Regions from separate parts of the Homo sapiens genome. Here all the other regions are linked to region 1. The links are contacts of gene promoters, found by promoter capture Hi-C in blood cells and fetal thymus (Javierre and others, 2016). All regions are on one chromosome and are shown on one strand. Each heading gives the region's core, a stretch centred on a gene start or on the middle of the fragment in contact. The rest is flanking DNA. Distances are from core to core; before and after follow the strand shown. Region 1 holds the start of INPP4B (inositol polyphosphate-4-phosphatase type II B). Region 2 overlaps INPP4B (inositol polyphosphate-4-phosphatase type II B). Region 3 overlaps INPP4B (inositol polyphosphate-4-phosphatase type II B). Region 4 overlaps INPP4B (inositol polyphosphate-4-phosphatase type II B). Region 5 overlaps INPP4B (inositol polyphosphate-4-phosphatase type II B). Region 6 overlaps INPP4B (inositol polyphosphate-4-phosphatase type II B). Region 7 overlaps INPP4B (inositol polyphosphate-4-phosphatase type II B).

The links. Contacts are between HindIII fragments. The CHiCAGO score rates a contact against its expected background, and 5 or more counts as called.
Region 2: a fragment that was not itself captured here is called in contact with the fragment with the promoter of INPP4B in region 1 in 15 of 17 cell types (total CD4 T cells, fetal thymus, non-activated CD4 T cells and 12 more); the score reaches 65.6 in total CD4 T cells.
Region 3: a contact is called between a fragment that was not itself captured here and the fragment with the promoter of INPP4B in region 1, in 12 of 17 cell types (non-activated CD4 T cells, naive CD4 T cells, total CD4 T cells and 9 more). The highest score is 28.0, in non-activated CD4 T cells.
Region 4: a fragment that was not itself captured here is called in contact with the fragment with the promoter of INPP4B in region 1 in 7 of 17 cell types (naive CD4 T cells, activated CD4 T cells, non-activated CD4 T cells and 4 more); the score reaches 15.4 in naive CD4 T cells.
Region 5: a fragment that was not itself captured here is called in contact with the fragment with the promoter of INPP4B in region 1 in 5 of 17 cell types (non-activated CD4 T cells, naive CD8 T cells, activated CD4 T cells and 2 more); the score reaches 11.6 in non-activated CD4 T cells.
Region 6: a fragment that was not itself captured here is called in contact with the fragment with the promoter of INPP4B in region 1 in 6 of 17 cell types (non-activated CD4 T cells, naive CD4 T cells, activated CD4 T cells and 3 more); the score reaches 14.5 in non-activated CD4 T cells.
Region 7: a fragment that was not itself captured here is called in contact with the fragment with the promoter of INPP4B in region 1 in 5 of 17 cell types (non-activated CD4 T cells, activated CD4 T cells, naive CD4 T cells and 2 more); the score reaches 9.2 in non-activated CD4 T cells.

Annotation. Positions count from the first base shown.
Region 1 is chr4:142,844,284-142,848,527 of GRCh38, forward strand. INPP4B (inositol polyphosphate-4-phosphatase type II B) reads right to left here and starts at 2,018. Exons shown (of 26, transcript NM_001101669.3): 1 at 1,926-2,018. All of the region lies in intron 3 of USP38-DT (USP38 divergent transcript), which reads right to left. RefSeq lists an enhancer at 2,775-3,361. The HindIII fragment of the contact is 4,051 bases long and covers 1-3,730 here.
Region 2 is chr4:142,122,133-142,126,376 of GRCh38, forward strand. INPP4B (inositol polyphosphate-4-phosphatase type II B) reads right to left here. Exons shown (of 26, transcript NM_001101669.3): 19 at 2,456-2,628; 20 at 1,160-1,283; 21 at 1-113. Among named protein-coding and RNA genes, the nearest start is that of IL15, 490 kb to the left of the region's middle. The HindIII fragment of the contact is 7,020 bases long and covers 1-4,244 here.
Region 3 is chr4:142,140,382-142,144,625 of GRCh38, forward strand. The region is part of intron 18 of INPP4B (inositol polyphosphate-4-phosphatase type II B); the gene reads right to left. Among named protein-coding and RNA genes, the nearest start is that of IL15, 510 kb to the left of the region's middle. The HindIII fragment of the contact is 2,191 bases long and covers 921-3,111 here.
Region 4 is chr4:142,156,765-142,161,008 of GRCh38, forward strand. INPP4B (inositol polyphosphate-4-phosphatase type II B) reads right to left here. Exons shown (of 26, transcript NM_001101669.3): 17 at 3,594-3,797. Among named protein-coding and RNA genes, the nearest start is that of IL15, 520 kb to the left of the region's middle. The HindIII fragment of the contact is 951 bases long and covers 1,844-2,794 here.
Region 5 is chr4:142,182,474-142,186,717 of GRCh38, forward strand. All of the region lies in intron 15 of INPP4B (inositol polyphosphate-4-phosphatase type II B), which reads right to left. Among named protein-coding and RNA genes, the nearest start is that of IL15, 550 kb to the left of the region's middle. The HindIII fragment of the contact is 549 bases long and covers 1,714-2,262 here.
Region 6 is chr4:142,200,154-142,204,397 of GRCh38, forward strand. All of the region lies in intron 14 of INPP4B (inositol polyphosphate-4-phosphatase type II B), which reads right to left. Among named protein-coding and RNA genes, the nearest start is that of IL15, 570 kb to the left of the region's middle. The HindIII fragment of the contact is 1,699 bases long and covers 873-2,571 here.
Region 7 is chr4:142,215,919-142,220,162 of GRCh38, forward strand. The region is part of intron 12 of INPP4B (inositol polyphosphate-4-phosphatase type II B); the gene reads right to left. Among named protein-coding and RNA genes, the nearest start is that of IL15, 580 kb to the left of the region's middle. The HindIII fragment of the contact is 2,275 bases long and covers 1,301-3,575 here.

The DNA of each region.
Region 1 (4,244 bases), core at 768-3,267:
ACAAATAAATATTGATTTGCTTAATCAAAGAGAATACTCTCCTAGAATAAGAGCAGTATTTCAATCTGCAAACATGTTTCTTAATGTCACTGAGCATTTAGCCTATCTTCACACACACATTTCATAACCTTTCAAGGACAATCTTCTACATCACATTTTAAGGAAATACACTGAAAAAGCAATCCATTTTGCAATAGCATTTTACATTACTACAAATTCACGAGGTTCAACCTTCAATGCCCATGTACCTTTCACAAAACTATTGATCATTTCCTATCAATGCTTTACAGGATTATATCACAAAGGAACACATAATGCATGTATGTGCATCAATGCGTAAAGGAGAGGATGCATTTCTGTGCATAGTATGTGAACTGACAATGCCCACTTGCCCAGTCCTTGCTTTACTCAACTTCTTACACATCATCAGCCAGCTGCCCTGTTGATGATTCCTTGCACCTTATGCGCTGCTTTATCATTGAGTCAGATTACTACCATTTCTGGTCCAGAACTCATTAAGAAAAGTCCTTTTTCAAGCAAGGTCTTTGAAATGTAGTTGTACACCTATAAAAGAACTATCTGGAGCTCATCTTGAGAGAGAGAAGATGAATTTATCCTCTGTCTTTAGGCTTTTACTTACAGAGCCACACCTTTATAAACAAGTTCTGTCTGTCATACTGACAGGAAGGAGATATGCAAAATGTAACATCTGGAGTCATAAAATATAATGACCTCAAATAACATTCCAGAAAGAGAAAGGAAAACTAGTTCTGGTTAGGGAGAAGATAAAAGAGGAAAAGGAGTAAATTTACATCCTTAAAACAAGAGTAATAGAAAACCCTACCGGGTTTTTCCAGTAAGTTTTGTGCAGCAGCAGCAACAACCTAATCAATATGTGCTTCCTCACCCTCTTGTCCCCAAAGAGAAACTGCTGGGCCCCTCTCCACCGACTCCCCAGGAGCAGAAACTACTGCCCCCAAGGAAGGGAGAATTCAGAAGCGTGGGGAGGGGGAAAAACAGGTATATGTGGTTCTAGCATCCTCATCTTCATATCAGCTACCAGCCTGAAACTACATTCAGGAACCAGGCTCCCAGACATTCCCCGGCCCTGGGCCCTGCCTGAGCGCCAGAGAGCTTGAGGAGCCTGCAGCATAGTTCTCAGACCCGAAACAATGACCTCCCCCGTCCAAACCCAGGCACTCTTGCGCCAAGGCCCTAACCTCTCAGCGAGACCTCTTTGGGGAAGGACAAGAGATGCTGCCTGATGGCCGAGAGAAGACATGCCAGGCTTCTCTGCCAGAATGAGTTGTTGAGGGTGGGATGAAGGTGGTCAAGGAGATGGGCTCTTTATTTTTAAAACAAAAAACAAGGCAACCGGGACCACCAACATCAGTCACCCTCACTCCCCACCACTGCCTCTATTCCTTAAGGACTTCTTCCCAGGCCGGCGGCGGCGGCGGCGGCGGCGGCGGCAGCTTGCGATCATCAGGATTGGAAGTGAGAGCGAGTGCCCGGGCCAACCTCAGCGTCTCTCAGGGACAGCGCAGGTGGGCGCAGCCTTGGAAGGTCAGCGAGGCCAGAGCTCAGAGTTCCACGGGGGCCCGGAGAGTGTGCGTGTGTGAGTGAGAATGCGAAAACGCGCGCGCGCCGGGCAGAGGGGCGCTCGGCGAGAGGGTAGGCGCGGTGACAGGGGTACCCCAGCAGCCGAGGAGAGACAGCCCACCCCACCCTTTAAGCTAAAGAGCTGGAGGGGTGATGGAGGCTGCAAGACGGAGAAACTTGATGCAAAACAGACAGGCTCCCCCCTCCAAGACGTGCCGCCACGCTCTCAGACACGCTCCCTCGCCTCCCGGATTACCCACCATCAACCACCCCACCCTGCAAAATTCCCCCACCGAGCCCTAGGATCCCAGGCGGGTAATTACCTCTCCCGGAGGCGGAGTGGGGGGCGGCAGCAGCAGCAGACACTTTTAGCCTGACTTTCCTGCGTTCGCTTGCGAGCGTGTGAGCGTGTGCGCGCCCAGGAGGAGCTGTAACCTGCTATTTATAGACCGAAGCCTCAGTACCCGGGGCTGAGAACCCGGAGGAAACTAGCAGGCGGCGGCGACGGCGCAGGGCGCCGGCCGCGGCTTCGCGAGGCTCCAGCAGCTCCCCCAGCCTCTGGCTTCGGCCGCGCTCCCTGCTCGCTCCTCGCCTACCAGCCCCGCGCGCGCCCCAGAGAAGTTGTCACCAGCGCGGCTGGCTCTCCGGCTGCTCACACGCCCCCTGGCACAATTGCTACTTTCTTCCACCCCAACCCCCACCCTCCCCGCTCCTCTTCCTCCTCCTCTGCTCTCTCCAAGCGGTCTCCTCCCAATGTCACCAGCGACCGAGTAGAGGCGGCCGTGGCAGCGACAGTCGCGCAACTGGCGCTGCTCGCTTCCCGCTACTGATAGAGCGGAGATGGTGGCCCGGCTGCCCACCCCGAAATTACCACGCTGGCTCCGTGTGCTCACACCCCGTACCCCGACCCCTTTCTGCGGCCCCTCTGCCCGCTGGGTCGCCCACCCAGACTGGGCTGTGGGATCACCGCTACCGCGACGAGGGGGGACCCGAGGCCGCCACGCTGCTGCGGGGGCAGGAGAAACCACAGAGAAAGAACCCGCGGGAGGAAGAAAGCGCCCCAGACCCCGGCCTATGGCAGCGCAGTCCCTAGACCGAGGGTTTTTGGAAGGGGCTTGGGATCCCTGCTGTCACTGCCTGCGTCTAGGCATCCATTCACGCCTGCTGGACCCCAGTCTGCAGCCGCGCTGGGACCCCTGTCTCTTGCCCCTCCTCCCCCTTGCCCCGGGCAGAGGTCGGGCTGAGGAGACCAGCTTAGAGCAGCCCTCGGCCACCCACCGCCAGTTCCCACGTCGCGGCGGGTGACTGAGGCCGAGATGCTCCCAACTAGCGTATGACATGCCTTTGATATCCCGGGTGCGTGGGGACAAATCCGCCCTGAATGTGTTGGGGTATCAGGAAAACGGGGTATGTAAGCAAGCAGTCTGGACGGAGACTAAAACTCCCCCACTTCCTAGCCCCTAACAAGCCCACAGGGGAAAGCACGCACCCTGGTTATTCCGGGCTGTGTAGGGTGTGGGGCAAATGACTCTCCCCATCTGCGCTTTACAGGTGCCACCTGGCGGCTCTCTCGGAAAGGTTTTGATGGAGCCGTTCAAAGGTAAAGGTGCCCAGAGCCAGCCCATCAAGACACCCCAGCCCTTCTCCCTGAGGGCGCTTTAAAATCACATTTTAAGTAAAGCAGTGTACGAATGCTTGTACACAAGTGTTACATTTGCCATGCAAAAAGACTGGAATCTCAAAGTCAGGACAGTGAAATCAATTTGGGTTAAGTCGGGGCTTAACAGTTTCACAAACCAGGAAGCTGTATGTACCCCCAGCTGTCACCCCTGCTGTCACTGCCCGCATCTAGGCATCCTTTCACTCCTCAAACCTTTGACCACCACATTATAAGCCTTGCCAATGAGGACAGGGACTTTGGGTTTGTTTTGTTTTGTTTTGTTTTGTTTTGTTTGGTGGGGGGAGTTGTTTGTTCGTTTCATTTATTTTTTTCATCACTCTGCTCCCAGAGCTTGGGACAATACCTAATATTCTGTAGTTTCAATAAATGTTTATAGAATCAAATAATAAACACTATAGGCCAGAAACTGCTTGGCGCCCCCGAAGCCCTTCCTTTTGCTTCTCTTCAAGCTTTTTCTCCTATGCTCAGCCTCTACCCCAAGTGAGCTGAATGCAGAGAGATAGGAGAGTGAGGAACAAATAATCCCTGTCAAGATGTGGATCAGCTTTGAGAAGCCTTCACACAGTTAGATTTCTCCTCCATGGGGCAGCACTGAACACACCCATCTCCAAGCAATGGGTAAGCCGTGTTCATAGAGATCTGCTGGAAAGATGATACAACTTTCTCACTGGGCAGTTTCTGATTTTTCTCACAATAGAGAGAGATTGAAATAATATCAGGACATTAGGATGTCAGAGCTTTGCTACTAAATTGGAAATATGGTTAACATATCTGTCCTCTAAGTGGAAGAGTGTGTGTGTGTGTGTGTCTGTGCGTGTGTGTGTTTATGAAGACTACAGCAGCAATGCCAGAAATACCAAACCATACCTCCTAAAAGACTGAGTTGTAAAATAAATGCAGTTACTGATTCTATGGAAATGGACGTTTAAAGTGAGATGCTTAGAGGACCCTATTATAATTA
Region 2 (4,244 bases), core at 1,175-3,674, 720 kb before region 1:
TCCTGTTATAACTGGCAACACATCATTGGATTTGGCTTCAATTATTTTAAATGCAACTTTCTTTAAATCGGAAATGCCAACGGCCATGTCCTCTAGCATTCCAATTTCATCGCCTAAACAATAGAAAAGGCACTTAGCTACAAACAAACATTTGAGGAAAATGTCACTAGCTACTATGCCTCCCTGCTGGAATTTGTTCTAGCATTTTATTGAATGAGTTTCTGAATGCAGTGAACCTACTCTAGACACTTTTCCTCAGAGGCTGAAGGTGTTTCTTAGTGAAATGAGAACCATTTCAATGGACTTCAGAAGTCAATCTACCCTTTGAGGGAAGGAAGAACGTGGACATTTGCTGTGAGGCTGGAGAGAGTGTTTTAACCCCTTTGTGATTTGTGCACCTTTCTTTCTACTGGCAGGACTGATATCTGTTGTCTAGAAATAACAGAGGTAGCTGAATTTATCATCACTGACCCAGGTTCATGCTAGTTTTGCATCTCCATACATTAACAAATGAAGCCTGACAGGGAGATCATTAAGATTCCAGATCAGCACTCTCTAACAGAAATATGTGAGCCACATATATAATTTTAAATTTCCTGGTAGTCATTTTTTAAAAGAGTGAAATTAAAAAGGTAGAATTAATTTTAATAATATATTTTACTTAATCCAGTATATCCAAAATACCATTTCAATTGTAAATTAATATGAAATTATTAATTATCAATATAAAATATCTTTTAAAACTAGTTTTTGAAATCTGGTATGCATATCTAGTACTTATTGATTTGGACTAGACACATTTCAATTACCCAAAAGTCACACAAGGCTACTATATTGAACAGTGCAGTTCTAGACATTACAGGGTTGAGACTTTAAAATCCAGTCATTGCAACTATGTTGGCACAGAGCCTTTTATATTAAAAAAGCCAGATGGCTGCTCAGGAGTCCACTCTGAAATAATCTATAATTCCATTTTCAAAGCATAATAGGAGGCAAAAGTAAGTTACAAGGTGAATGCAAAAAACTGAAAGTTATATTATTTTTGTAATACTTGGCACAATAAAGGTTTACTTATTTTTATGTTTTCTTGAAAAATTTCTGGATTAAATGTCCTTCTGAATAGAAATGTGATTTTAACTTGTACTAAAGCAATACTCACTGTATGTACTTAGCAGTCCTTCATATTGTACTATCAACCCCACTGTGTGAAGCTGCTGTAGGAAGCCTGGGTCATACAGACTTGTCTGTAATTTGATGATAAAACCACAAACCAATCCAGCAAGCTGAAAAAAAAATATTGATGAGATTTACTGCAGTTAGCAAACGTATTTGTTTTATTTTGAAATATTTTAAGACTTCTGAGGCATCACAGATTCGATTATCAGGTATGTATAACAAAACTACAACTATTTGGTAGGCATAGTAAAACAAGTTGACAGTCTTTGATCTAGAATTGCTGTGTATAAAAGTCTTGGGGAAGGTAGAAGTGCAAAGGGAAAAAGAACATGGACAGGAGTAAGGTTGATAGGTCTTCAAATCTTATATCTACCATTTCTAACAGTAAATTCATAAACACTTAAGCACTTCCAAATCTTACTATTTTTTGTACATGTAAAATAGAGATGATAATAATCATTTCACAGGGTCATTAAAAGAACACAATGACGAAACATGTATGTATAAGGCAGAGCATATTTTCCGACACCTGGTTAGCTTCATGTGCCACTGGACCATTCATGAAATAGTGGGGGAAAGCGACAGTTTGGTTAAAATATTCCCTTTTCCTAGAATGTTTAGAAAGAGAAGTCTTCTTTTTCTTTCTCTCCATATGTCCTGTCTATAAAACTCAGCCATGAGGATGGAGGCAGGTGGGGAGAAGGAAGGCACCAGCACACCCACCGTGATGGAGGCAGGCCTTGGCATTATGAATCATGTTGGGTGTAGGCAAGGAAGGTGGCCCTGTCAAACCTCCTATTCGAGCCTTACTGCCCTGAAAACTTATTTTAAAAACAAAATAAGAGATAATTGTGAAATCCTGTCCCAGGATTCATGGGGGAGCTGTACAAATAAGCGACTGCAAACAGATCCCCTTTGCCAAGTCCTAGCTTGTCACCTGGAGTGCAAGTCAACAGTCCCTTCCCTTACACTTATGTAGATCCCAGAGCATAATACAAAGATGATGACCACTTCCTTCACGGACTTCATGCCCTGTGAAGCAGAATTTACATGTTAGAGACTTGGCCATCTCTTTTCAGAAATAAATACTTAAGGTCTCATAAACTCTTTGCTTAGGATATTCAGCTGATATTTATCGTGAATAAGAAACATGGGATACCAAAACTTTAAGGATCTTTTTAAAAATAAAGCTGTCCCAATAAGAATTCTATTCATCATCAAGGATAGGATGTTAACAATCCGGCATTGTTTTGTACTAACAATAACAACAGGCACCTACTGCTTGGCTGAAGACGATGTCTCTTCTTAGCGTCAGCATCAGACACTGGGGCAAGCTGTACGCAAGTTCCTGAAGGAGCACAAATGTCAGGGACTGCTTGGCTCGGTTCACCACTTCTCCCATGCAGTCCTTCAGGGTAAGGATGAGGGGATACAACTGTTCATACCAGTCCTCTGGGGGAAGGGGGTGTAAGAACAGTGCAATAGATGAAGGAAGGTCTTGGAATATAATGCAGAACCAACTTCCAACTTATTTTTAATTTTTCAGTAAGTTAGACATATTCTTAAGGATTCACAAAGATTAGAGCTGAAGATCTCTAATTTAAATCTCTCGCCTGAACTCCACAATGTCCATAAGCAGCCACCCATCAGACCTCTCCAAGTGGATGCATTTAACATATTTGCAGCAGATCTCTCTTCTCTGCTCATCTCTAATCTGTGCACTACCTGTATCTTAGTGAGTGGTGCCATCAAATCTTTCTCATACTGGAAACAGAAGTTTTACTGGACTTCCTCTTTTGCAGTTTTCACATTAACTTGGTCATTAAATTAGTTCTACTACTCTTAACAGTCCATCAATATGCATCTTCTCCTTGTCCATGCCCATCGTTGTTTATTGCTCTCCCTTGGATTACTTCCTGGACTACTCCCTAACCCATCTCCCTTCCTCCAGTCACACTCTACTGAATTCCCTTCTCAACAGTGTTGCCAGAAACATTTATAATCAGTTTGTATCTGATTGTACCACTCACTCCTCACTTCTTAAAATATTTTGAAAAAAAAACACTAAAGCATTCATAAATAAATAAAGTTCAAACTCATGAAAGATTCTCCATTATCTAAACTTTGCCTATTTGTCTAATCTCATCTTTCAGAAGTTTATTTGCTGTCTTGAGTCTCAGGTGAATTGAACCTCATGTATTTCCTTAAACTTATCTTGTTCTCTCATCTCAATGTCTTTGAAAATCCTATCTCCTCTCCTGGAACACTCTTTTTCTACTTATCTTCCTGACAAATGCTTTATCTCTTCTGCAAACTCAATTCAGGATTTCTCTTCTCCAGGAAGTCTTCCTTCATTTCCCCCTTACTACACTTCCCTATTCCATGAAGATTGGGTTGAGCTGACTTCCTTTTGTGCCTGTATCTTCCTGTCCCAGTACTACTCACACACTACTCACCATTTTCCTCTGCAAGAAAGATAACTCACTGAGGGCAAGGAATTCATTTTTTAATCACCGAATCACTAGAACCTAGCATAGTGCCTAGCATATAGTAAATATTCAATAAGTTTTAATTGAATGAGAAAAGTTACAATAAATATAAAAAGTTTTAAAGATATAGACAAGTTTAAGTAAGTCAAGTTTTGGGTAGTATTTGGGATTCAAATAGCTGTTCTTCAAATGAGGATGCAAAATTGAGACCATTTGTGCTATTTGTATGTCTAGATTTCTAACAGGCATCAATTATATAATTATGACTTTGGTATGATATAGAAACAATTTATGTTCTGTTTCAGTTAATTTGGAGATCAAAGCCCTGGCAAATGTTAACTATCATAAATTCTTGACCGTGTGACATTCCATTAATATATAAATAAATTAATGGGTGACAAATACGATTTGATATGAATGAGTGCATGCTGCGAAATTAATTATAAAGCAGGAACTGAAATGATATGATCTCCTCATCATAAAAGTGCAAGCATCATTGTGAGTAATGTGAGTGGTAAATAATCAGTTAAGACCTTGAAAGAGTGACAGAGAATAATAAAAAGAATCACAATCACTATC
Region 3 (4,244 bases), core at 766-3,265, 700 kb before region 1:
ATGATATGAATGGGTGAACATAGAGCTGGTTGAACACACATCCCCAAAGGGTAGTGATTAACCAGCGTATTTGAATGCATACTGTTCCTTTTAGTGATGTGCCTTAAGAATCTCTATGTAGCTCTGTTTTCTAATCATTTTTATCTGTTACTTCTAGGAATGGACAGAAAATGCATATAAAATGTGAATAAAATCATCCTGAGTAGGTCAGTAGATATGAAGGATGAAAGAAACAGGTATTTATTAGAGTGTACTCAAAGGCATTTTATACTAGTCAGTCATGGGTTTAGACATCCATCTCTTCAGTAAAATTGGGATAGATTGTTTTAATCTTCTCATGCCCCCAATATTTCATAATGTCTAGTATATAGTGGTGCTTAAATGTTACTTGAATCTTTAGAAGCCTGAAGGATAGGTCAAATTTAGCAAGGTTTATGGATATCAGTAGAATTAGTTGTAAAATGTGAGTGTCAAAACAGTGAATGCCAGCTTAGATATCATTATATTAGAATAGTACCTAAAAGTAGGGAGGTGGTCCTCCTGGGTTACTCTGCAGCTATTAACTGTATTTGTATCGCTGCGCTTAATTCTGCAGACTGCTGAGACAAACTAGAAGATGTTCAGAGAAATGCAAACTCTTGGATATGCTTGAAGCTATTCCTTTGAAAAATGATTGAAAAGGTGACAATTCAAAAGGGACATGAGGGTTGCTTTCAGATACACCTTAGGCTTAATGTAAAGAAAGAAAAGTAAATTTGTTTTTTATTGCAAAGGATTATATCTGGACCAGTGGGTACAATGAAAGAAAACATATTAGGATCAAGGTCTGGAGTATGTTGCTCTAGAAGATAAAAAGAGTTTTCTATAACTGAAGATGTGCCTCATAGGCTAGTTGAAAACCGGCAGAGATATTGTAGATAAGCTTCTTAACATATTTTAGGAGGTTTAATTACATAATCTTTAAGATGACGTCAAAATCTAAGGTTCTAATATTCACTGATTTTATCTTTGAGTCAGCAGTTTATGAAACTGAAGGCATGTAGTGCTATACAGACAGCAGATGCTTAGAAAGGTATTTGAGTGTACTACAAATAAAAGGACAATCTTCATTCATTAGGAAACCACATAAATATATATAAACTGTAGAACTTTGGAATAGTTATTCTATTATTTCTCTTCAGAACAGCACAGAAAGTTTTATGTCTCTCAGCACTATCTGCATTTACCCTAAAAAGAAATTTATAAAGCAAGCCAAAGATATACTGTAAAACCTTGGTTCTCAAACAAACAGAAAACCTTCAAAACTACAGATTTAAAATATTACTAAAAGGAAAATTTGCAACTTGAAAAGAGAAATAGCTGTAGGTTAAAGAACAACATAAGAAAGTGGATAAAAGTAGCACAACCCAGATGACCATCTGTTTAGCCATGTTAAGTATACAGCAGCAAAACAAACACAAATTATAGCTACAATGTAAAAATAAAGGAGTGTGATGAAAAAGAAAAACTGTCATAGGATTGATTTACTCCAAATTTAGAAATGTATCCCAACATAAATCACAATAATCAAAACCCTATGAAATAAAACAAAATTCCAGAATTTGATTTAAAATAGATACAGAATCTAATAAACAAAAAACCAGAAGTAATACAACATGAAGAATAACATCACTAACAAATGATGCTGCAACAAATGCTTATCAGTATTTATCATATCATACATTGTAATAAATACTATATGTCTCAAATTGCTTGCCTAATCAATTCACTAATTAATTGTAAAAAAGAAAGGAGCAAAATGGCTTGGGCTGGGATAAATTTGGGACTATTGAAGAAATACATTTTATTATCAAAAATAATATTTTGGAATATAGTAACATGTTATACAATGTCAAACTTCACAGAAACAAGAAATTACAATATGATATTTTCACCCAAAGTGGCAGGAAATAAGTGAAAATATTTAAGGCTGAAAAGATTGTAATCAGAAGGTTGCTTTTAGATCCTGTTAGTTAGAGTGTCTTTTGTTATAGAGAACCATGAAAATGTTTCTATCCATCCAGATGTTGATTTCTAAATGCTGTTCTCCAATAAAATGAAACCAGGTTTCTTTAGAAATTGGCTGAACCTGGAGCTGGGGTAGGGAAAATATAAGATGAGCCTAGAGCTTCTTATGGTGCCAAAGAGGAAGTCAGTGAGTAAAACAAGTAAGAAAATGAGTAAGGGAAATAAGAAAGTAAGGGAGTAAACAACATATGGGAGGATGTCATCAGAAGGACACAGAAATCAATCTGAATAAGAGAGAACAACTTGAGTCCAAAATAAATAATATTAGTATTGGATTCTTAACCAAATAATAAAATAAGTATTCAAACAAGGAAGAAAAGATTTTGAATGTTGTCACCACAAGGAATGATAAACGTTTAAAGTGATGAATATGGTAATTACTCTGATGTTGTCATTATGTGAATAAAGCACCACATGGAGTTTTACCCCAAAATATGGCTCCCTGATATAATGAATATTTTGAATTACAGGCCCTTAGAGATCAACAGATGGTAGAACAGACTTTTCCCTATCCATATAAAGACAGGGCAGACCTATGAAGGAGAAGAGTTGTTTCTTCTCTGCCTCGGCCCCATGTCTCTCAATCTTCTACCTCTTCAAAAGCACAGGCTGAAGTTTCCTTAACTGCCTAAACTCCAGATCTTCAAAAACAAACAAGCAAAACACCAAAAAACAATTACCTGTGATCCACTCCTTGGTTTTTTACTAACTGAACCCATATCCCAGGAGGAAGACAAAAGTCGTCAACAAACCTGGACATATTTTTGTCACAAACCAACAGGCCCAACAGACAACTGTATGTTCTTCAAGCCCATTAAATTATCCTAAAAACTATTTACTATCTTCCTAAAATCATCCACACTACCTCTCCTCTCCCTTTCCCCTAAAATGTAGGGTATATAAGCATCTGTACTGAGATATTAGGTAATCACAGTGTGATTCTCCCTTTACACATGATAGCAATAAATTTATATTCCTTTTCTCTTATGAATCTGCCTTTTTATGAGTTAATTTTTCAATAACTTTTCAGAGGGCAAAAGGAGAAGCTTTCCGTTCACCCACACATACACATGCATTGAGACATCACGGTGAACCCCATAAAAATGTACAATTATTATGTGTCAAATATAATTAAAATTTAAGTTAAAAATAAAATAAGTATTCATGAGTCCACATTGATATAAAAAATGGATAAATAAATACATAGGAGAGAGGGGGCAACTCTTCCTTACAAAATAATTCCAGTTCTGACAATCTAACTTATGGGGAAATAAAATTTAGTTAAAGACTTACAGAATCAAAGATGCTTATATGTTAATTACAGCACTATGATAGTACTTAAAAATCTAAAATAATGGCTTCTATTTTGATGAATTCGTTTACAGTCATTATAATACGCGTTCTGGAGAATGGTTATGAGGAAATATTCAGACAAAAGTAACATATTTCACACATTTAAATAGTGACTTCTCTTAAAAAAATTCTAACACAAGAAAGAATTGGTGATGAGTGAAATAAACATAGATAATAAAATAAGAAAATAAATTAGAGGGCAATATGTTGTAGTTTGACTCTAACCATCCACAACATTGATCTAGCTGTGAATTCTACTTCTGCAGCAACTTCTACTTGGTTTTAGACTATATGTACACAATGTCTCATATTCAAATAAAAATGATTCATCTAATCTTACGGCTGATTTATCTGCCAAATATTTTACCTTTTAAAATGCATTTTGAATGCCCAGATGCAGTCTTCTGATGAAATACAAGATACACACACACACACACACACACACACACACACACACACACACACTGTATAATTTCAAATATTTTGGAATGTTATTGTCTTCAGTGAGAAGTTTTGGCAACATTAAACAAAAAATATAACAAAATCCAGTGTCCCTTATCTTATTTCTGCTAAAAAATAATATGCCTTGAAAAAATCTATCAATGGACATAGTCACTAAAATGAATTCTTCTTACCTCATTTTCTAGAGGACAGCAGTGTCTGGCCCATACTTGATAATCAATATTTGTTCAATTAAAGAAAATTGAAGTATGCTATTTCTTCATGACATAGCTATGACAAGCTTTCATTTTGATTCATGTAAAGTTATGAAGCTAGACAAGATTCATTAACTAATAAAAACTGGTATTGTTAAAAAAGAAAAT
Region 4 (4,244 bases), core at 1,069-3,568, 690 kb before region 1:
GTGAGCAGGATTCTCTTTTTTGACTTCAAAAGAATGGTTCTTACCTGCATCAGCCGGGTAGGATTTAAGTGTAATCTAACACCATTTATTTGCTTCCCAAATACTTATTATAAGAAGCTAAATACAGTTGTTCAAGTCAGGTAATTATTACAGTCACTATCAGAAATTAAGTAAAACAAACAAAAAATGCTTAATGGAATTACTGTAACCTTATTTGCAAACGTAAGCCAATTTAAGTGATCAGGGAATATCTTCACATAATATCACAGAAACCCAATTGAATTAATTTAAAATGCTGAGTTACTACCAGCATTGACTAGACTTGTAATCAGCACTGAAACTTTTCTAACAACTAATTAAAAAAGGGAGTATACAAAGTTATGTTTCTAATTCATTTAATACCACAGTCTCTAAAGGCATCTTCAATTAGCTACATTTTCTTTAGTTTTACTCAATTTATCAAAGTTAGATAAAGCTTTGAGAATAATGTTAGTGTTTATGACTCTGGTGAAATATTGTTTCTATCTTTTTATAAGGGATTTCTATCCTCTGATGAAGGAATGTTTTCAGTAGAAAGCGGTTGCTAAGGAAAATCAATGAAAATGTTATATACCAAACAAACTCGGTTCTTGTTTGCAAAAAGAGTAAAATTATATTAGAAGGAGAGAATTAGAAGTAACTTTTCTGAGTGGGAAAGATTTTTCTTGTAATTATGGTAAATTTAGGCAAAGCTTGTATATGCTTTCCAGAAACAATGAGTTCAGAAGGAGGCTTAGAAATGACATTAAGGAGATGCAGAGAGCAATGCAGCCCTTCATTATTGCCCAATCCTTTTGCCTTTGAAGGACAACAAGAGAAACTGAGATGACAGCTTTTCATCAACTGGAGAAAAGAATCAGAAAGACTTTTTTCCTGGTGTTAAGACTAGAAAATATTCCCAAAAGAATAATGAATGCTAAACAAACAACCATGCCACCTGATACTCCAGCCTTGGCTGGCCCATCACAAAGCCTGGAATTATTCTCAAATTTTTCACGTTACTCATTAGCTCAAGTACTCATTTCTTCGGTGCCTATTTGAAACCTTCACCACTCCCTCCAGTCCTCCCCGTCTTTTTCTCTTAGCACATGGTTCTACTTTATGGATAAAAGCAGCCATCCAGCCCCACCCACCCTCACATCTTCACATCCTCCCTGCAGTCTCAGGAGAAGTGCCTGCTCTTCCACCTGGACCCTACCGTTGACTTTCTTCCTTCTCTTGTAAGGACCTTGCTCCATCAGTTATCACCTCTGTGCCTCTCACATAGCCTTTGGAATATAACATGCTCAAATTTCACTCACTTTAAAACAAAACATGTAAATAACTAATAATAATCACAGGCACAAACACACACACTAACTACCTCTCTCTGTATGTCAGCTATTATGCTCCATCTAAAAGGGCACCACATCTTCTTTCTTGAATGATTAACTTATACTCAGATTTAAATCTCCAGAATTACTTCTGGCAACACCACTATGGCTACCACATTCTTGCTGTATCCCATGTACATCTCTAAGGCTGCACTGCGATTGCTATTTGTCTTTCTACAGCCCTGAATAGGCTGTGGAGTAACTGAGGGCCAACGTTGTTCACCTGCTGTCCCCAGCATGTGGCACAGTGAATAAGGCAGAACAGGTACTCAGTAACACTGACTGAAGGGAATAGTGCTCTGTAAACCTTCTCAACTAATGATACAGTCCCCACTTTCTTCCGTCTTTGCCCATCATAAGACAGTTCTGGACGTAAAATTTTGAGTTGAAGTCATATTAGCAGAAACTGTCTTCTATCATGTTTCTTTCTAAGCTTTGTTGCAAAATGTTGTAACTATTTGTTTACATATTTTTATCTATCACTAGACTCTGAGCTCCAAGAACTAAGGATCTAACATTACTTACCTTCCCACTTGAAATACTTAATAAAAGGTTTCAAAAATTATCTAAAGAAAAGGAAACAAGGAAGGAGAGGGACTATTTTCAACAGGAAGAGGGGGTCAAGGTGAGGGGGAAGGGTTTGTAAAACATAGTGAGTTAAAATGAGGGGGAAAAATTCCAAGATTCTCACTTGATTTAATATAAAATGGTAATTATTTGTCAAAAGGTCAACACTGGATGTTTATTAAATAAAATATATCTTCTTTTCTGTATACACTCGAACTCTTCAAAATTCACAATCCACATTGTATGACATATCTAATTTCCCCACTTATCTCAAGGGATAGTATTAATCTTCTTAATAAGATTATATAATTTATATTACTTAAGAAACATATAACAATAATACTAAAGTAATATAATGCATTTGCCTTGGCATTTCCAGGAAATGGAGCATTGTAACATGGTAAATCATTGATTTCATGACCACTCTAAGAGCTAACAGAACACGTGCTGTTATTTTCATTTTACAGTTGAGAAAATTGAACTTCAGAGGTTAAGAGGTGTGTACACTTGGAACTGTGAAAAAAAAAAAGTGAAGAAGGTGAAGGTAAAAGGGAGAAAGAAATATTAGATTTGCTCTTTGAAAATGCTTCATTGGGAGAAATGCAATTTTAATCACCAACGACAAACACTCAGCATTTACCTCTTGGAGCCCACCTCTGTCATTTTTGTGATAGAAATTTTACCAAAAGAAAAAGCAGGCATCACCTCACAGCCTTTCAGATAACATTTTTTTTTTTGAGAGGCCTGTGCCTTTCAAGTAATTTACTCCCCATTCTTAAATTCTAGGGTGGCAAGAAAAGTAATTGTTAACTAAAAGCTTAACATCTAATACAGCTAGCACACTATTTTTTTTGTTAAACATATGATACAGTAATAGATTTCCCTTTGTGTGTGTGTGTAATATGCATATACTTTGGAGAATTCTTGAATAATTTATATGTATCGATTCAGTAATAACACCCTGTTCCTCTGCCATGGTACACCTTCACGTTTCTCCCATCATATTCGGCCCAACTAGAATTTCTCTCACCATATTTATTTCCTTTGTTTATTCATGTTTCCTAGCTATTTTTTCGTATCATTTTATGAGGCCATTCTTCTGTAAACTTTAGAGCACCTAGAGCAGCATCTTACATTATAGAACCTTGAGCGAGAGGGATTTGCGAGATATCTATGTCTATTGTCGTTTAAATGTGAATACTTTTAAAAAGTACTTCCAGAACCAAAACACTGGATTGCAACAATGAAAATACTTGTTGCATCTAAGTAGTAGTAACATGGAGGGTTTTTTATTCTTTTTCTAAAAAATAACTTTCATGTTTTATATAGTTTGGCAATAAATAAGGAAACATAAGAGTCTTGTAACTGTGGCATCTTTACTTGGATGACAGATTCTCACTTAAACATATAATTCATTGGCTAGCAAATAAATTTTATCAGGATTTCAACTTCCAAAAAAAAATTGCCCCTAAGGAAAAATGTGGCCTATTTATCCACAATCAGTGTTATAACTTTTTTTCCATTTTTTAAAATGGAAAGCAGAGCTATCTGATCATTCCTACCTTATTTCTCATTGCCAAACATTGAGAGGCAAGCGATATACAAGAGACTTACCCACTCTTCCTCATCATAGTCTGAATGATGTGGTATGGAGTCCTGCCCTCTCATCACTGGGGGTTGGTCTTGGGGACTGCTCTCCTCTGTGCTGCTCTTAGGAGAGGGTGGCTTCTTAAGAATGCCTCCTGGCCTTGCAGTGTAGAGTGCTAAAAGAGCACTCCTGACAAGTTGATCCTTGAAGGCATGTACAAAAAGCTCTGTCTGGAAAGAAATTGACAAGGATTAGAAACACCTTGGTAGGCATCTCAGCATAGAGCTGTGAAAAGGTCAATTGCAGATTTGTTGGTACTTAAGTGGTGTGTATGGTGGAAAAAGTACAGACGCCAAGGAGAGAAAATGATTCATACCAATCAATGGAAAATAGTTTGGTTCTGGGATGCTGCCAAGGCCTTAAGTCCTCCTGTTTTAAAGTTAATGCTGAGGTTTTAAATGCACTATAAACACCGTCTGTCTCCTCAACCTTCTCCCTTTTAGTTTCACAAATCCTGTCTTTGGAGATGAATTTCAGTGGGCTTAATCATTTGAACAACATCTACCTGCTGCAGCTTTCAAGTCATTCCAAACACTCCTGAAAAGAAAATGTAATCAGTCTATGTGTATTTTATTAAAACCGCAATTACTTTTGCACCAGCCTAATATGTTTTAAAC
Region 5 (4,244 bases), core at 738-3,237, 660 kb before region 1:
GGAGGCGGAGCTTGCAGTGAGCAGAGATCACGCCGCTGCACTCCAGCCTGGTGACAGAGCGAGACTCTGTCTCAAAAAAAAAAAAACAAACAAAAAAAAGATTCTTAATGTGAAAAACAGCACGGACTCAACATGATTATTTTCTTATTTCTCAAAATGTCTCTTTAATGGAGTATAAACAACTGACCTTATTAATTAAGCAATGGAAATGAATGGCTTATTTCCTGTATCCCCTTTCTCAGCTGTCTTGGCATTTACCCGGTTATAGAAACCAGAAACCTAAGAGTCCTTCAATCCTGCCCAGGCTCCCTCAAGCCCTCAGCCAACTGGATGTAAATTCTGTTAGATATTTCCTTAAAATCTTCAACTCCCCAGGTACCTGTTTTCCCTCATGCAACTATTATAATAGTCTAATTGTTTGCCATTCTTCTGTTCTCTCTACACTGTCACTCCAAATACTATGATCACGGCAATCTTCAGCTGAAAACCTACCAATTGCAGTATCCATAGCCTATAGGGTGAACTGCCAGGAGCTGACATAGCAAATAATTGTTTAAGATTTGGTCCTTGCTCCCTGCCCAGCCTAACGTCCTTTCATACTCTCCTACACTCTAGAAGCTGCTCTGTGTTGCTGGAGTTTATAAGCCAAGGGGCAGTGAATGGCACTATCATTCCCCAGATGTATGTGGGAGTCTTCCTTGATACCTCTGGGTTCTTACCTCCACTCCTAACACACATACAACCCCCAAGTTGCCCCTAAATACCTCTGTAATTTATCTTCTCTCCATCTGTGCTGACACTATAAGCCAATCCATCTTCCTTCTCTGATGGGGTTACCACAATAATCAATTATTAATGTAAGCCTCATCACAAGGAAGAGGACATTGAAATAATTCAGGCAAAGTCCCCTCTAATAAAGATCTTGCAATAACAGTATTTATATCATGTAACACAGCCAAGTGTTTGATTTTTCCATGACATAAATTCCATATGTACATTTTTTTAAAGTTTGAGATGTTCTACACTTAGCTTTCAAAGCTCTGAAAAATATAGTATATTTTATTTGTAGATGACTGGCAATTTATTTATAGATGACTTTTCTGCTGTATGCTGCCTTTGCAATGATGACTATTAAATATCTAGAACAACAGACAGCTTTAAAAATATTCTGGAAATCACTTGGAGTTTAACAAGTTCAAAAGTTCCTCCTTGGATTCAGTGAATACTTCTGAGATAACATACTGTGTCATGGTTTAAAATGTTGTTTCAGTTTGCAGCAAAGGAGAAACGTAACTTCTAATTTACAGAAAATAAATCCTCAAATCATATTATCTTTATATATTTAGTTTTAAAAATAAACAGACAAAATGTATTTTTTCTGTAATTTTCATATTAGACTTAACATTTTTACTTTTAAACCCTAATCTTCTTGTTGATTTTTTTTTCTGATATATCTCTAGGTGTACACATGTAGCCACAGCTATAGTGAAGACAAGAAAATCCAAGAGTGGTTATGTATTTTGTCATTTTCAGACTGCCTTCTTCACCAAATTTGATATCATTAAAAATTTGGGGACAGTTTAGCAAACACATTTTGTCATTTACAATTAAAGTCATTTCCTTTAAAATAAATATTCAATTTTTTAAAATTCTGAACTGTCACACTATATATAGTGCCTCTTGCCTAAATATCAGATCATTCTTTGCCTCACAAGCTTTTGGACAGGTTGTTGGAAGAATGTCACAACTTGGAGGTGTTAAAGTCACTATTGCATTACTGATATTGAATCAGGTTTTTAAGTTAGCCATCTTTATATAAATTGTCTCCCTTCTTCTTTCGGAAGACGTAAAAGTATATTTTCCCTAGCTAGTGAGGTGCAAGGAAACACTAATGTTATACCTGCCAAATAGTTGTTTTCAAAGCCTATAAGACATTTTCCACAAGTGTCTTTTTGTTTCTGTTTCTTTTTCCTAATTCCACAAAAAGTCTCTGTGTCTGCTACCTAATTCTATCACACTGATCTCTTCTGCAGGCATAGTCATTGGTTCTTCCCTTTATTCTTATGGCAGGCAACACTTTGATGTTACTCATTCATTCCCCCATATATATATCCATTCATCAAACTCTTTTCAAGTTAGGTCCTGGGGATACTGTGGTAAACTGGACAGACATGTTTCATATTCTCAGAGCACATACAGTCTAGAGGGATTTTGTACACTGGAGACTTAAAGCAGACTTGGCTTAGACAAGGAGTCAGAAGAAGCTTCCAGGCAGAAATGATTTTAAGTTAAGATCTGTGGTGGTGAGAAAGTTCTCTTCTGGTTCACTATGGAGGGTAGAGGGGAGGGAAAGATGATGGTGTCATGGTGCAAGATGAAGCTGGAGAAGAAACCATGGCCAGAACACATGTATATATTATTGCACCTTAGATTTTCTCCTGCAAGCAAGAGGCAGCAAAGAAATTTTTAAAATTATGAAACACAAGAATATTTGCCTTTAAGAAATATAATTCCAACCAAGATAAGGATAACTGATTGGATGAGAGCCAGTCTGGAAGGAAGGACGGTAATTAAGAGGTTTGGTAGTAGAATATTTAAAAGACAGTGGTTCTATGTGCTAGGATTATCTTAACCCATGTTTCATTATTAAAATGCATAACTTCCAGATATATAAGAAAGTAAATTAATTTTAAGTGAAAGCAAGGGAGAAAAAGTTGTCAAGGATTTTCAGGTGCTACATTGAACAGTGGGGTGGATGGTCATACCTTTTTATTAAGGAAAATAACCCCCAAAAGAAGCAAGTTTGAGAGCCAAAGGGATGCAAAATGATTCAATATCTCAATCTTGAGGTGTATGGAAGATATGAGTAAAGTGGAGCTACCTGCTAGATATATATTTATAAATATATATGTGTATGTGTGTGTGTATATATATATATATATATATCTCATCAGCCATACTTCTACTTCACACGTGAATAATATCCAAACTCAGTACTCAAGACTGAATGAGAAATTAGGCATATTATGCATATTAATACAACTTTTTGGTGGTATTACTTCTAAAATTTAACTACCTCTTAACTAAGAAATCTTAGTTTCTTAGTTAAGAAAGAAGTCCTCTTGGCCGGGCGCGGTGGCTCATGCCGGTAATCCTAGCACTTCGAGAGGCCGAGGCGGGTGGATCACGAGGTCAGGAGACAGAGACCATCCTGGCTAACACGGTGAAACCCTGTCTCTACTAAAAATACAAAAAATTAGCCGCGCGTGGTGGCAGGTGCCTGTAGTCCCAGCTACTCGGGAGGCTGAGGCAGGAGAATGGTGTGAACCTGAGAGGCGGAGCTTGCAGTGAGCCGAGATTGCGCCACTGCACTACCTCCTGGGCGACAGAGCAAGACACCATCTCAAAACATAAAAAAAAAAAAAAAAGAAGTCCTCTTAACTAAGTGTAGTTATACTAAATGTAGGAATTTATCTAGAAGAAACACCTAGAAATTTGCAAAGATATATGAATAAGGATATACCTTGCAAGCGCAGGTGGTTCTAATCAAAAACTTAGAAACAATCTAAATGACCATCAATGGTGTATTGGTTAGATAATTATGTTAAATCCAATCAATAAAATCCTACTTAGTTTTCAGAAAGAATAAGATTTACATGCACTAAATTGAGAAACTGCCTAAACATTTTTTGTGGAAATATATCCTTTCTATATATTTACATAAATAATAGCTAATATCGATTAAGACTTCATCATGTGCCAGGCACAGTTATAAATGCTTAGCATATATAAACTCATCAAATTTTGGAAACCACCCTCTGGGGTAAGCACTATTATTTCCACTTTACAGATGAGGAAACTAAGGTACAGAAAGGTGTGGTAATCTGACTAATGTCACAAAGACAGTATGTGACAATCAGAATTCAAATCTACACTGGGAGCGGAGTCTATGAATTGTCTGAGATGAAAGTTTCTGCCTGTTCCAGAATGGAGGACAGAAAAATTAAACAGAGTTACAGAAAAGTCAAGAACATTACATTCTCAACATTTGTGTTTGTGGGCTAAGAGAATCACTGCTAAAACTTAAATAATTTGACATTACAAGACGAAATCTTGCTGCAAAATAGATTAAACTGCTCAGATTGGTTTATTTTAAAGAAGAGGACTAGAACAGGTAGGATTTCAACTATACAAGCCTCTTTATTCTTTGAATTTGTGGGCCATAAACAAATTTTGTTTTTGTA
Region 6 (4,244 bases), core at 472-2,971, 640 kb before region 1:
TTTCATTTCGTTAATGACTCAGTAATATCTTTTTGCTGTTCAGGTTGTGCCAACTTTGTGTTTTGGGAGCGCCTTAAGGTTGGCTGTTGTGCCCTTTATGTATACCTATTCTATTAAAAAAAATTTTTTTAGCATGTCATTACTTTCTAGAGCCACAAGATGCTCCAGAATCATCTTGTATTTTCCCTGACCCAGCCCTGCAATCAACCAACTTTCCAATAAACCTTGATCCTTTTCATTAGAGAATAGTGTTTAGAAATCAAGCACTGAGGACTAGTTATGCTCACTGCTACTATGGTGTCACTGCTTTCCCTTTCATTAGCTAGGACTAGAAAATACGTGTCCTATAGTAATTATGTATACATACTTCCATATTTATTTCCTTATCTGCCTCTATTCTTTATTTTTCATTCTTTTTATTATCATTTTTTATAATTTTATTGATCACTTATTATCACTTAAACAACACAATAAAAGTAAGTTAAAAAATAAAGCAGGTTGGGGATAAGAAATTCTAAGACAGACATATTGATAAGCAAGAAAACAATCAGATTTGAAAAACAATAAGCACACTTATGTGTTCTCAAATGTGAAAGTACTAGAGAGCAAAAATAGGGTAAAAGTCCCCAAATATTCTTCAGTTTTGAACTTCATAGAATAAATTTCAAATTGACAAACTCTCACAGCTAGCAGAAGTGTAGCATCTTATCTAAATTCTAGAAAGGCATTTTCAACCTATCATATTCCATTAATATCAAGAGGTCTTCTCCACTAAGACACTAGATATGGTTTATGTCTAGATACTTATAAAGCAAAGTCTCCCTGTCTTTGTATTTCCTCAATTGCATTCTGATTCTAACCACTCCTCAAAAAGCTTGAATCTTTGTGTGCATATTTTATAGAAGTTCAAAGAGTTTGGCTTTAAATAGCATTTTTACACTTCAGGTCTTCAAAAAACTTGTTTTAAGTTTTAAACTTTTAACTTTGATAGCCAAAGAGTGGCTTTGAAGGAAACAATTGGAAAGTAGCTGCTGAATGTTATTCTCAGAACTGACATGAATTTAAGCCAAAGGAAACAGCTTTGTTCTCCAGCTATGGGTATGTTAGGTTTGTCACATGGTCTGAAATAACATTTTGTACAGTTGTGTAATCTTTAACTTTAATTGAGATATTTTCCCTCACATTTAAAACTGGTCACTCAAATTGTTAAAATACCAATACTTTCTATGAAAGTTGCAAATTTATTATCTTAGGTAATCTTCTTAATATTTTGCAGTTGTCATTTCATAATTATCAGCTACCAATATCTCAATGTGAAACAGCATGGTTTATCTCCTTTGGCCCTTTCAGCCTTGAATTTCACTTGTAACTACTACAAAATAGATTGATCTATGTATACCATGTGATTTATTTCCTGGTCTCTTCAGCTGATGAAGAATGGTATACACTTAAAGTACCATGTTCATTCTTAGCTGGGGCAGTTGTATTCCTTTAAATTTAGAATTAACTGCAATTGATTGTTTTCCTCCAAAGAGAAAAAAATGTACAAGAAAAAAAAATAACCTATAAGAAAACAAAATTAAAATTCTAAGGTAACAATACCTATAAGAAAACAAAATTAAAATTCTAAAGTAACAATTTGGTCGGTAAAATCCGTATTATCATTTAAAAAATATTTTTATTGTACCCTGCTCTTTACGATTTTTTGAACAGCTTTTACCATGGCTATATCCTATTCTTTATGTATCTTTGTGATTTGAATAGCCCTTAGCTGTGTAATAAAAGTCTTCAGATTTTTGTTATCAAGAGACAATTAGAAAAATCTAAGTGGGAATATCTTATAGAAAATTTAAGCAAACAAAATACAGTTTTTTTTCTTTTAAATGTGTCTTCCTTTTTGACATTTTATAGTGTCTCAAAAATTGTCTTTGGCTTTGTGAAAATTGCATAGTATCCAAAGTAATAGATAAAAAGTAATAGATAAGTAGAATTTAAGTTGTTGAGTCTTGTCAAACTAAAGACACCAGATTGATTTGAGATTTAATAATAGGGCTGCCTTGTAGCCTTTTAAAAGCCATTTAATAATAGAAATGAGATAATAACTCTATTTTTCCCAGAAGATCTTTCTAAAATTCCTACAACTATAAAATAGTGCTAATGTCAAAAATGAAGACACGCTGACCTCATATCAAGGAACAATTTAAATATAATCCCTGATTTCAAAATGGCATGTAATATGTCTTTGGCAGGAATTGCAAAAGCCTTTAGGGATTTTTAAGGGAAATCTGTGTCAAAATAGTCCAAGCAATTTGACATCGTTATTAAATACATCTAACATAATTATGCTTCACTGATGAGGTGATACTCTCACATTCTTGAGATACAGAAATCAGAGAGCTCTAGAAGCTCCTCTCTTCTGCTCCTTCCTTCTATGTAGAGATTATAAAATGAAAGGCCAAAGAGGTTAGCTGACTCCTCCATAGTTAACACAGTAAATTTTGGCTACTGTTGGACCTGATTTCACCTACAGCTTTATGATATAAACTCATTTTTTAAAACATATATTAGTTAAGCTTCTTTTCATACCAATTTGCGGAATCCCACTTGAGATATCTGAAAAACAACAAACAAAAACAATGAGAGTGGGCGGGGCCGTGCTTGACAGGTGTGTTTCACTCATGCAAACTAAGGGCAAGCCCATTCATTCCCTGTGGGCTCAAATCAGGAACTGAAAAGCCATGAGAGACTATCTCTGCCTTTCCTCTCTTTTTGTGGTCTCCTTTATTACTGTATGTCTGATTTTTCTTCCCCACGGAAAAGATGAGCACTTTTTGGTTCTCTAGAACACAATTAGAGTTAAATTCAGAAGGAGAGATTGTCTCTGAATCCCCAAAGAGAATCCACGAGTGAAACTCCATTGATTCAGCTTGGGTGAAGTGATCACCCCAGACCCTCTTTTTATTTTTTTGCACATGCTGTGTCAGGCACTGTGATCACTCAAGCAGCTATATCTAAAGGGACCAGGCTCACAAAGTAAAACCATAGCTATATAGCTAATATTTACAAAACACTCATGCTTAGAGTTAGCTATACATTAATAATGCAGTTATATAAAGAAGGCTTTTAGTACTATAGATTACAACAGATCCATAAACTATGTCTGCTGTGAAACAAAATAGTTGCTTTAGTTTGAATTCATTAAATTTTATAGCAAAATATAATACTTTTCTATTGTATATCTATAGCATATAAAATAAAACAGAATATTACATTACAAGAATTTATATTCCATAATATTCACAACTGATGTGCTGTGAAAATAAAATTTATTAAAGTATATTAGTATAAAAACTTTTGTTTTGAATTTTGGGGTTTATGTTTCATTCTTGTCACTGCTGGCTAAGATCTATTGTGGTGAGTATTCTACTTGTTGCATTTAGTTTAAGTAATGAATAAGGATGAAAAACTTAACTTAATGAGTTTCAGGGCACCCTAAGTTAACTGCAGGTTATTCCATTTGTCAGTATGAGACATGACAACATTAGTTCTGCTCAGTTACTTATTTCAAGAGCTACATATTAGCCTTGTATCTGGTGACTCTGCCAGCTATTGTTTGCAAAGCTTCCTCTCCAAATATAGCAGGCTTATTAATCAAATGTGAATAGACACAATTTACTAATGGTAAAGATGAAAAAAAAAATTAGACCACATCCAAATAACTTGCCAGTAAAATGCCAAGGCTTAGCCCATCTTACTTGCATTATTACCTTGCAATAATAATTCAGCTAAACATTCAAATCAGTAGCCACAAAACTTAAATAAATTTAACTGCAATCCAAAATCTGTTAAATACATGTTATAAAAGAAAGTAGAAAAATTTGATTCACTACCACCTATGACAACTTTTAACGTTTTCATTTTGCAAATAATAAAATGACACTCAGAGAGGTCAAATAACATGGTTAAAGTCAAAGTAGTAAGTGGTAAGGACCCAAAATTTCAATGGAGTTTTCAACCTGTATTATAACATGTAGTTGGTGACCTAGTCTACATAACAGCTACTTAATCTGAACTCCAGTTTCAAATAATAACTTTTAATATTACATATTTTTAAAACATAAGCTTGATAATTTAGCATGCTGTTATATATGCAATACAATTCAGTACTTTTCCCATTAATGTGGCTCTTAGGATATCTAGCCTTTTCCCATATTTTCTTCTTAGCTCTTCAAAGACCAGAACCA
Region 7 (4,244 bases), core at 1,188-3,687, 630 kb before region 1:
AAAAAAAAAAAAAAAGAAGGAATCTGACACTAATGTTGTAATTAAATAGTTGCATACCATTACAAAGCCTTTGGCATGGGTAGCAAAGGAGATTAGCTACATAAATGCTTTTTTAAATTCATATAAAATAGGTTTTAGAATACTCCTATCTGTAAACATTCTCATTTTACTCACAGTCACAACAGCTTCTACTTTCAAATGTTCTCTCTTTCAATCACTACTTTGCAACAACAAAATAATTCTTCCTGGAAAATCCACCCCCTTGCTAAACACATACAATCTCATGAATTCATTGCTTTACTCTCACTAGAGTTCTATCTCCAAAACAAATCTTCTAACCTGTCTCTAGCTTCTCCCAGTTCTCCAAGAGTCCAACAAGTTGATGCAAGAAGTTAGGGAGAAAAGACTCAATAATAAAATATTAATAAGCTTAGGCCTCTTACACATTAAACACTTTTTGGGACTTACTTCCATCTGCTCCATTTCCCTTTCCTGACTACAAAAATAAAAGGCAAATTATACAAAACAAATCTCCAAAGGAGACATATAATTGCTAATGTCTATTCAGGAAACATCTAGTGCTCTATAGATCCTGGCATTCCAACAGCAAAGTATCACATTCTTGATACTTGATGAAATATTCATACAGATCTCTGGAAATAACCTTATGAAGTACTTTTTGTCTATATGGATCGTTTTGTCTTACTGTGTTTAAATATTTCAAAAACACATGCTTTTTATTTTCAGTAAAATTGCAAGTTCCTGGAAGTCATTATATACTCCGAACCTTCCACAATGTAGAACACCCTACTAATTATATGACATGTTTAAAACACAAGCTATTTAAAAACATGAAGAGAAAATGAGATTAAAAACCAAAACAAAACAACCCTGTGAAGAATAAAGAGAAATAATTAAGTACAGAGTGAATCATAGAAGAACTGGGAGAAAAGTAACCAAATGTGCTTTAATTTTGTTACATATAATGTGTAAAATATTGGCCGGAATATTAAACAGATAAGTATTTTTTAAACTTTATTCCTTATACCCCTGGGGTTGTTGTAGGTATAGGGACCCAGAAAGTGTTGGACAAATTAGGGCGAGTAAATGAATAGGCCTCAGGTTCTTTCCTTTACTGTACCCACCCAGTAGCTCCAATTATATCCCTTTAATTTACATTGGAATTCTGTGTACAATTCTGTTTGGAAAATAAACGTTACTGGGGCAAAAAAACAAAAACAAAAAAAGAAGAAACAGAAGGCTTAAGATCACCAAAATAGAAAATTGTAGCTCTATTTAAAGCTTCTATTTAAAACATAGCATTAAAGCCCACTGATGATATATTCAAGGAGGGATTTCCAACATGGGGCAAATGTGCTTTGAGTCTGTGAGTGGCAGAGACTAGCTTTATTCATCTTTTTGTCCAACCGCAGTCTCCTACCCATGGGAAGTATCTGAGATGGGCTTGTTGACTGAATAAATGAAGTTTGCTTGCAGATTGTTGTTCTTATATTTTCCTAAAATTTAGGATAAAGTCAAAATATAGACTAACCCTAGAGTATAGTGCTAAGCTCTGCCAAGTTTCAATGGAGAAATGAGACATGGTTCGGTCTTCTACCCTTGCATGATGTAGGTCTGTAATCCTAGATTAAGCAAGTCTTCCTTAGGGATAAAGATTTGAAAAATTTATCTTCATATGGCATTTCCTATTGTGATGGTTAATTGTACATATCAACTTGGTTGGACCACAGGGTGCCCAGATATTTGGTCAACGGTATACTGAGTGTTTCCATGAGGAGATTTTTGAGGGAGATTAACATTTGAATCGGTAGCCTCAATAAGGCCCACTGCCCTCTCTAATTTGGGTCGGCCTAATTCAATCAGGTGGAGGCCTGAATAGAATAAGAGACTGACACTTCCCCCAAGTAAGAGAGGAATCTCCTGCCTGACTGCCTTCAAACTGAGACTTTGCTTTTTTCCTGCCTTTGGACTCAGACTGACACACTCGACTGGAACTACACCATTGGCTCTAATGGGTCTCCAGCTAGCCTACTCACCCTGCAAATCTTGGGACTTGTCAGCTTGCATAATGATGTAAACCAATTCTTTCTAATAAATTGTGTGTGTGTGTGTGTGTGTGTGTTCTATTCTGTTTCTCTTTGGAACCCTGACCCATACACTAACTATGCTGGGATTCCATCACACTGATTTCTCTCTGCTTAGTGCATAAACAGCTGAGAGACAGGCCAGTTGGTGATGGTGGGAGGGAGATGGAAGAAAATCATCTAGAATATAGTTTAGGCTCTTCCATGGGCTTTTATCCCTCCTACCACATTTTACAAATACTCTCCTGACTTGTTCAAAAGAAAAACAACTATAGTGATGTTCGACTTGTCTAAGGGACATGCACAAGAAATCTCTTTAGTTCTGAGGCCAACATTCTGTGTGCAAGCACCTATGATATTGGAAGTGAGAACCAAAATTGGTAAACTTTAAAAATCTGGGTATATAAATTCAAAAATGTCAGAAATTATGGAAGGTAATTATTGTAATAATGAGTATCTGAAAATAATAGATAATTCATTTACGGAAAAGTCGTAAGACAAAATAGCTTGATAAAAATGTATACAGCAAAGGATATAGCCCAGTATGAGAGATATAAAAGTGTTATTTGAGACTGTTATAATTTAAGTAAATAGAAATATTTTTCCACAATGAGCTCTATAATACCATTTTAAAAAATAAAAATAGCTGTAGAACTTAAATAAAGCCTTTTGGTAGTTATTACACAGTAAAACTACACATGGTATGCATGGGTAGAAAGTTTAACAGCCAAGATGCTTTCATTCATTAAACAAAATTAGACCTTAAATCAAACTTAAAAGAAGTCATAAAAAATTTATTCACTAGGACAAAAATTAAATACTAAATAGTCAGTGAAGAATAGACTACATAAATGACTGGTAGGTGGCTTCAATTTCATAAAGTGGTTGGGTGACACCATAAAACTGAGCAAAGTTCAACTGGATGTCAGGTTTCACAGTATATTCAGCCTACAATTCAAAATATCTGTGCTTTAACCCACACATGGATAAAAATTGCATCCATAAATCACGGGCCTATTTTTTAAAATACATTCTTATAAATGACAATGTGGTTAATGTTGCAAGCCATGAGCCACTATTTCAGGGAAAAACAACTGAATATTCCAAGTGGTCATTCACTCCGATTTTCACTTGAAGTTAAAATAACTGCTTATTGTACTATATACACAATAAAGCCTCAAGTTATATACAAAGACTGACAGTTGGAACACAGTTATTACAGGATTTAGTTGCAATCACAAAATCTGTTTGTATCTGATAAACAGCCAGATTCTATAATTTAATTTTAGGTAACTGCATTAGAAAAAAATGAAGAACAATAAGTATGTCTTTTTCCAGACTAAGAATCTATTTGCTCTTGTTGATAAAGTTAAATTGGTATTTATTTACTTCTAAATAACATCAGTTTACCCTTCACAGTTTGCTTTAAAGTTATTAAACATGGCCAGCATTTATTTTTTAGTATTTTAAAGCTTAGTGCTCCACTTATTGTCTAAAGCAGTGGTAGTTGCATTGTGCAAAGGTTTCTCACAAATCCACATATGTTCATTACATGCCTTTTCATTCTAAGTAGCCGTGGAAGTTATGAAACGTACTTAAAAGCTGTTTAAACAAGACAGAGTGCTAGCATTCTCATCACATTTTAATAATTTGTGCCCACAATTTCAGAAATAGAGAACATTTCTGGATACCACCCCTTTAAATTCCTCTAACCCTGGACTTGGACGGAGGATGTTGTCCAGTTTCGTAGGTAGAAGGAAAACACCAGGCTCTATTGAATATTCTATGTCAAATTTGTTTGGTTAGTGGACACCATAAGATTTTCCAGGTGTTATCCCTTTTGATAATCAAGGTTACTTTTGCATAGAAAAGATCCCTTCCTTTGATTTCATAGCAATCTTCTGAGATCATTGCCCCACAGCTGCACCAAACAAAATAAAAAATTCAATCGTACTAGGTATATTTCAAATGTTCAGTAGCCACATGACTATCCTATAGGATGGTACAATACAGAGCATTTCTATCATCAATGAATGTTCTTTTGGACAATATCACTCTACACAAATGACTGAGAAGTACAGTGACTTCGTTGATGCCACATTGCCAGTAAATGGTAGATTCAGGACATGTACTCACTTC